2 separate regions of the Homo sapiens genome follow, and region 2 is linked to region 1. Evidence: promoter capture Hi-C in 16 types of primary human blood cells and fetal thymus (Javierre and others, 2016). All regions are on one chromosome and are shown on one strand. Each heading gives the region's core, a stretch centred on a gene start or on the middle of the fragment in contact. The rest is flanking DNA. Distances are from core to core; before and after follow the strand shown. Region 1 holds the start of CCDC66 (coiled-coil domain containing 66). Region 2 has its middle 6.5 kb from the start of ARHGEF3.

What was found. The method cuts DNA at HindIII sites, captures the fragments that hold promoters and counts their contacts. A CHiCAGO score of 5 or more calls a contact.
Region 2: a contact is called between a fragment that was not itself captured here and the fragment with the promoter of CCDC66 in region 1, in 6 of 17 cell types (total CD8 T cells, naive CD4 T cells, non-activated CD4 T cells and 3 more). The highest score is 7.1, in total CD8 T cells.

What each region holds. Positions count from the first base shown.
Region 1 is chr3:56,554,987-56,558,884 of GRCh38, reverse strand. It overlaps CCDC66 (coiled-coil domain containing 66), which reads right to left and starts at 1,710. Exons shown (of 18, transcript NM_001141947.3): 1 at 1,632-1,710; 2 at 1-39. The coding sequence starts at 1,642. RefSeq lists enhancers at 1,295-1,454, 923-1,594, 1,595-2,267. The HindIII fragment of the contact is 1,896 bases long and covers 29-1,924 here.
Region 2 is chr3:56,806,543-56,810,440 of GRCh38, reverse strand. It overlaps a transcript of ARHGEF3 not described here. Among named protein-coding and RNA genes, the nearest start is that of ARHGEF3, 6.5 kb to the right of the region's middle. The HindIII fragment of the contact is 4,883 bases long and covers 1-3,898 here.

The DNA.
Region 1 (3,898 bases), core at 461-2,960:
TTTCCATCCAGTAATTCAGTTTCAAGCTTTAAACCATCTCTGTAATAAAAAAAGAAAGTTGTCTCTCATTTTTAACAAACCGCAACATTTTAAATAACCAGAAATGTTCATTTGAACCTGACAATAAATCCATTATTTTGAATTTATGCAGGAATCTTGTACACATCGAACCAGTGTTTTAATTAAAAACGTTTGCAATCCAAGATAAAACCCACAACTACAGGGGGAAAATTCTTGAAACTCTTCAATACTACAAGCATTGTTATCATTAACCTGAAATCTCATTTTGTTATTGGTAAACTATAAATTAAGTTATCATACCACCATTTTTTAATAATGCTGTTACCAAAACTCCTCACATAAGTTAAAGGAACAAGATATATTTAACCGCCATTCATTAGTTTCATAATGAACTCATGACTAAAACATTCTATGGAGTGCTGGAGCATCGATATGACTACTAACAATGCCATCAAGGTTAGTAACTGCTTGAGCAAAGAGTACCACTTTCAATATTTCAAATAATACATAGTGATATTTAGTATGGTGCTTTATACGTGCATATCAGAAGCAAAGGCATAAAGTAACAGTAGCCACTGCCAACAAAACTTGAACGTCTGTTAAGGTCCTAAAACTCCACTGAGAACAAAAATGGCAGCCCATACATACAGTCCATAATTCAGAGAGAGAAAATTAAATCCAGCAAGCCAGTCAAGGGAGAGAGAGGCTGGGAAAGGTCTGATTAGGAATGCGAAATTTGCGGTGTTGCTCAGGTAGGGGAAATCAAATTACCTCACCTTAACTATTAAAGGTAAAACACTGGAAAGAATAGGTTTTACGGCTTTCCTTATTGTAGGGTTATGAACAGTTCGTGTTTATGTTGGTGAAACGTCACCAAGAAAGAAAAGAGCTTCAATGGTAAAGTACCTTCAATGACGCACTGCACTGTAATCTCCTTAAGGGACACACTATCTTATTTATTTCCATATCCCCAGATTCTAAAACATAATAACATTTGCTGAACGATGTGTAGTTAGGTCTGAGTTTGGTGGCTTCTCATCTTCTCAAAATATCAAACTTGCGAGTGATGAAGACCATGCACCAGCCCTTTTTATTTATTCACCCCTACTTAAGGAGCGCCTACTAGGTGTTAGGCACTGGTACTACATCGATTTCTTGAGAAGCCTGGTTCCCCGCCTCGTGGGCCTAAAACGAATTTGGGCGTTTCAACATTCTGCAAGACTCCAAAAACAAGGTGGCGAAGAACCCGGGGCATGGGCCAGGAGTCCTCCCCAGGAGCCGCCACGCTTCCTCTAACTGTCTCGTCATTTCTCTCCTTTCCTCCTCACCTCTCTTCCCTCCTCATCCTGAGGTAAATAAGGGACCGAAAGGGGATCACTGGCAGTTTTAATGCTAGTCATTAAGTGAAAACGTAAGGTCTGTGGAGTCGCTAAGGGCCGACCCATCTGCCTCGATCTTCTACCCGAGAACTGGGCTCTGCCCCTCTCGGCGGCGCAGGTTGGGAACGTTCTCCAGTAAAGACTCCAAGGGACAACCCAGACACACATGCCTCCCTCTCCGCTGACGACCACCTTGCTTACCCCAGCTTACCCCAGCTTACCCCTGCTTACCCCAAGTTCATGGCCTGACCTCGCACTCTCTCCACAGAACGCTCAAGCCCCTTGTGTACGTCGGTTGCCGCCGCCGCTCAGCAAGCGCTACGCCAATTGGATATAGGGGTGCCGGCGAGCTGAGCAAGTGGACCAATCAGGGTGGGGCATGCTGGCGGGTGCGCTGAGCTGGGCCGGGGCTCCCGCGGGGACGGTTGCGTATGCCGTTTGTTCCCCTTTTGTGCCCCGTTTGTGCCGTTTGTTCCCCTACGCACAGCGGAATTTGGCCTGACCCGGCTTATGAGTCTAAAGCTTCGGTGGCGGAGACCTGCGCTTCTCGCAATTGTAGCCTTCCAAAGCGCGTACACAGACACACACACACACACACACACACACACACACACACACACACACACACACACACACACACACCTTTTTGGGGTCACCATTTGCAAGTAAGTTACAGACATTGTAACACTTAACCCTTTAACATTGCAGACATTGTAACACTTAACCCTTTAACATTGCAGCATGTATCTCCTAAGAATAGATGTTCTGCTACATAACCGCAGTACAATTATTATACCTAAGATCATTAATTTCATAATAATTCTCTTCCCGATTTAATTTCCCCCACTTGTCCTAAGAATATCTTATAGGCATTTTATTTAGAAAGCAAGAGCCAATCGCGCCACTGCATTCCAGCAGCTTGGGCGACAGAGTGAGACTCCGTCTCAAAAAAAAAAAAAAAAAATGCAAGAGCCGATCAAGGATCACACATTACATTTGGTTGTTAAGTATCTTTGCACACACTCTTTCCAGACAAAAACAATGAAAGGTATTAATTATTAAATGCCTGACAAACCTTTACTTTTTTATTTTTTATTGTTGTAATATGTGTGTTAAAATTTGCTATTTTTAGCCATTTTCAAGTGACAATTCCATGATACAATGTTGTGGAATACGCCAGTATATTTTTCCAAAAGCTTTTTAGTACCCCCAAATAAAAATTCTGTACCCATTAAGCAACAACTTCCCATTTTCCTCTCCCCTCAATCCTAAGAAACCTCTAATCTTATTTCTGTCTCTAGGAATTTGCCTATTATAGATACTTCATGTCATAAAAGTGGAATCATACAATATTTGTCCTTTTGTGTCTTCTCTCAAGTAACATAATGTATTCAAGGTGCATCCATGTTGTAGGATGTATCAGAGCTTCATATCTGTTTATGATTGAATAGTATTCCATTCTATGTATATATATACCACAATTCGTTTACTCATTCATCCATTAATAGACATTTGGGTTGTTTCCATCTTTTAGTTATTGTGAATAATGCTGTAGTGAACACTGATGTACAAGTATCTGTTTGAATCCCTATTTTCAATTTTCTTGGTATACACCTAAGAGTGGAATTACTGGGTCACATGGTAATTCTATGGTTAACTTTTCGAGAAACTGCCAAACTGTTTTCATAACAGTTGCAGCATCTTACATTTCTGCCAGCAATGTATATGAGGTTCTAATTTCTTCACCCCAACACTTGCTTTTTCTTTTTCTTTTCTTTCTTTTTTTTTTTTTTTTAGAGACAGGGTTTTGCTCTGTCACCCAGGCCGCCTACATTGGTACGAACATAACACTGTAACCTCGAACTCCTGGTCTTAAATGATCCTCCTGTCTCAGCCTCCCAAGTAGCTAGGGCTACAGGCATGCACCACTACGCCTGGTTAATTTTTAAAAAAATTTTTGTAGAGACAGAGTCTGTTTACGTTGCCCAGGCTGGTCTCAAACTCCTGGCCTCAAGTAGTCCTCCCACCTCAGACTCCCAAAGTGCTGGGATTATAGGCGTGAGCCTGTAGCCAGAATGATTTCTAAAATGTGAATCTGCTTAATTCACTCTGCTTCTTAAAATCTCTCAATATAGGAGAACGTCCTTAACTTGATAAGCAATATCTACAAAAAATCTCCTAGAGACCGGGTGTGGTGGCTTATGCCTGTAATTGCAGCACTTTGGAAGGCCAAGGCAGGAGGATTGCTTGAGTGTAGGAGTTCGAGACCAGCCTGGGCAACATGGTGAGACTCTATCTCTATTTTTTAAAAAAATCCTGTAGAGCCCAATATCACACTTAACAGTGAAAAAGTGCAACTTTTCCACTGAGATTGGGAACAAGAGCAAGGCAAGAATGTCTCTTCTTATCACTGCTTTTCAACATCACACTGGAAGTCTGAGCTAATCCTAAGACTTAGCCTTAGTCCTAGCTAAGACAAGAAAAAGAAATAAGTATAC
Region 2 (3,898 bases), core at 869-3,368, 250 kb before region 1:
CTCCCGAGTAGCTGGGACTACAGATGTGTGCCACCATGCCAGTTACTTTGTCTATTTTTTGTAGCGACAGGGTTTCAGCATGTTGCCCAGGCTGGTCTCCAACTCCTGGGCTCAAATGATCTGCCCGCCTCAGCTTCCCAAAGTGCTGAGATGACAGGGGTAAGCCACCACACCCAGCCTATTTTAGAGAGTACATAAAATAATAGCACATATTACAGTCTTAGGTTCGACAAAATACGGTACTTTGATTACTGAGTTTGTAGTTGATGGAGGAGAAAACACCTCTAATATCCAAAGCTGGAATGTATACATTTTAGGTTCTAATTTCTCTGAATAATGGTTACTATACGAAACCCACATAAAGGAATACCTTAGTTGTAGTCTGAGGGGAATAAATAACTAAATAAATATATGGCCAGGCACGGTGGCTGACGTCTGTAATCCCTTTGGGAGGTCGAGGCAGGTGGATGACATGAGGCCAGGAGTTCGAGACCAGCCTGACCCACATGGTGAAACCCAGTCTTTCCTAAAAATACAAAAATTAGCCAGGCATGGTGGTGCACATCTGTAATCCCAGCTACTCAGGAGTCTGAGGCAGGAGAATCGCTTGAACCTGGGAGGTGGAGGTTGCACTGAACCGAGATTGCACCACTGCACTCCAGCCTGGGTGACAAAGTGAGACTCTGTCACAAAGGAAAAAAAAAAAGTAAAGTAAAAAATATTTTAAAAATTAAATATAACATATTTATTGAATCCTTAACCCCCAAATATGAAATACTCTCAAAGGCAGACTCTCCAGAAAATTCAAAGACACTCTAGTAGTACACAGAAAATGTTTTATTACTTCTGTGGGCAGAACAAGCCTGCTGATAGTTATAAGTTCAAATTGGAGAAGGTCAGGTTTCTTACTGCAAAATCTTCAGTGAGACAGGTTTTTGTTTATACAAACTGTGCATCCAGAAACACCATATATCAAGAAAATAGTAAATTAAACCCCTTAGGGTTTTCATTTAATCACTGAGTTTGCATTTCTGCCCCCCAAAACAAATATAGTGGCAAAGGTTGTCCTGGGGAAGAATAAGACTTGAAAAAAATTCCCTCTTCCCTGGTTTCTTCTTTATTATATTTCATTGAAATTTTAATTTTCACTGGTGTTTTAAAGTATATTTGTGTACCTGAAGCAGTTTAAGACAGTTTTCTGTCCCCTCACTCCCTTACTCCTATATTCCTCTTTATTCTTTTGTCTGTCTTGTGTTTTATGGAATTTGTTATTCAGCCAACGGTCAGGTTTGGGCATCAGGGAAGACTTGATTCATTGCCCTGTTCTGGGGTTTCTTGGCACTCAAGCATTTCTTCTTTGCCCCACCAAGCCTAAGCTGATATTTGATACTAATCAATGATCAAAGTCTGAAGTGAAAATACCTTGAGGTCAATACCCACAGATTCCCTTGGCTCCAATACCATATTTCAGGACCACTCTCTCTTTACCACAGCGTTTCTCAATAGTGGCACTATTGGCATTTTGGACCTGCTAATTCTTTGTTATGGGAAGCTGTTCTGTGTATCATAAGTGTTAACAGCATCCCTGGCCTTTACCTATTAGATGCCAATGGCACCCTGGCCTTGTCCACTGACAATCAATCAAAAATACATCCAGACAGTGCCAAATATCTGCTGGGAGGTAAAATCACCATTGGTTGAGAAGTATTGCTCTTATGAACCAGAGGCTAGCAAATGTTTATGATGTTTCAGGGCAAAACACTTCAATATTATTATTTTTTTGAAAAAACAAAAAAATTTGCTAATTTCATAGCTAATTTTTTATTTTTATTTTAATTAATTAATTATTTTGAGACAGGTTCTCACTCTGTTGCCTAGGCTGGAGTGCACTGGCATGATTATGGCTCACTGCAACCTCGACCTCCTGAGCTCAAGGGATCCTCCCACCTCAGCCTCCTAAGTAGCTGGGACCATAGGCACATGCTACTACGCCCAGCTACTTTTCGGATATTTCTTTTTTTGTAGAGATGGGGATCTCATTATGTTGTTCAGGCTGGTCTCGAACGCCTGCGCTCAAGCAATCCTCCTGCTTCGTCATCCCAAAGTGCTGGGATTACAGGCGTGAGCCACTGTGACTGGCTAATTTATTATTACTATTTTTTTTGCTTTATAGCTGATAATCCACAGGATTAGCTCAGCTGGGAGAGAGAGATACTCTCCTTTAACCAGTTTTTCAGAAAATGAGACCTTAAAGAAAATGCAAGAATTAAGCCTTCCAGCTTTAGACTATCCGGGGATACTTTTTTTTTTTTTTTTTGAGACAGAGTCTAACTTTGTCACCCAGGCTAGAGTGCAGTGGCACGATCTCGGCTCACTGCAACCTCTGCCTCCCAGGTTCAAGTGATTCTCCTGCCTCAGCCTCCCGAGTATCTAGGACTACAGGCACCCGCCACCATGCCTGGCTAATTTTCGTATTTTTAGTAGAGACGGGGTTTCACCATGTTGGTCAGGCTGGTCTTGAACTCCTGACCTCAGGCGATCCACCCGCCTTGGCCTCCCAAAGTGCTGGGATTACAGGCATGAGCCACTGCACCCAGCCCAGAGATACATTTTTGTAAATCTAGACTGGAGTCAGTGGACAGCTCCTCAGGCAAAGGGAGAATAGTAATACTGGTATGAGTTTAGAGATGATGGTTGCTTCATTTGTGCCATTTTTACCTATCTAGCAGTAAATCACAGTCCTGATCTGCCAGAATTCACTGCCAGAACTTCTTTAGGTTCCCTCCCCATCAAAACTGAAATTAGAGAGAGGAGAGGGGGGCTTGGTCATTAACTGGAAATGTCACCCAAATGGAAGGGGAGGGGAAAGGTGTTGCAACACTCATGTGCCCACCATATACCTACACATCCATGCCACTTTAGCAGGTAGAAGAGATGACTTCAGATACCAGGGAAAGCAAACAGAGGTACACATATTGGAGGCCCAGGCTTTCGGGGATCAGCTACTGTTCCTTGAGCTCCTTATTCAAATGTAAACACATAGGTTACAATTGAAAGGCCACATTTTAAAATTGGCCTTATTCTTTGAGCAAGTATGTATTAAACATCTGCCTGGCATAGAAGTTCAGGAATGGGTGGAGAAGAGGAGGGGAGAAATGTATCTAATTGAACACCTGACTGTAATAAGCATTCATTAATTATTTGATAAATGAATGAACGGATGGATGAACAAGCCTTTAAAGAAAAAGGAACTCAGGCCTGGCGCGGTGGCTCCCACCTGTAATCCCAGCACTTTGGGAGGCCAAGGCGGGGCAGATCACTTGAGGTCAGGAGTTCGAGACCAGCCTGGCCAACATGGTGAAACCCCGTCTCTACTAAAAACACAAAAAATTAGCCGGGCGTGGTGGTGTGTACCTGTAATCCCAGCTACTCAGGAGGCTGAGGCGGGAAAATTGCTTGAGGCCGGGAGGTGGAGGTTGCAGTGAGCAAGATCACACCACTGTACTCCATCCTAGGCAACAGAGCAAGACTGTGTCTCAAAAAAAAAAAAGGAACTCGCTATTCCTTATGTTAAAATATAACGCTAATAGGACAAAGCATTGTCCTGTTGGCTGAGAAGGCTGTCACAGCCATGTTAGCTTCTGGTTTTATCCTCAGGCTAGGCCTGCTCTGCTCCCAGTCATGGGACTGGGATTTAAGGAGTTGACAGATGGTCTCCAAGCCATGCCTGGTTGTCTGCAAGTCTAAAAGGAGCTAATAACCAGTGGTGGGCTTCTGTATTCAGGCCTACCATTCCACCAGCAGCCCAAATGACCCCCGCTCAACACAGGCAAGACCACAGGCCCTGTGCTTGGCACAGTTCCTGCAAATGCAGAACAGCCCTCTTTATTTCAGTCTC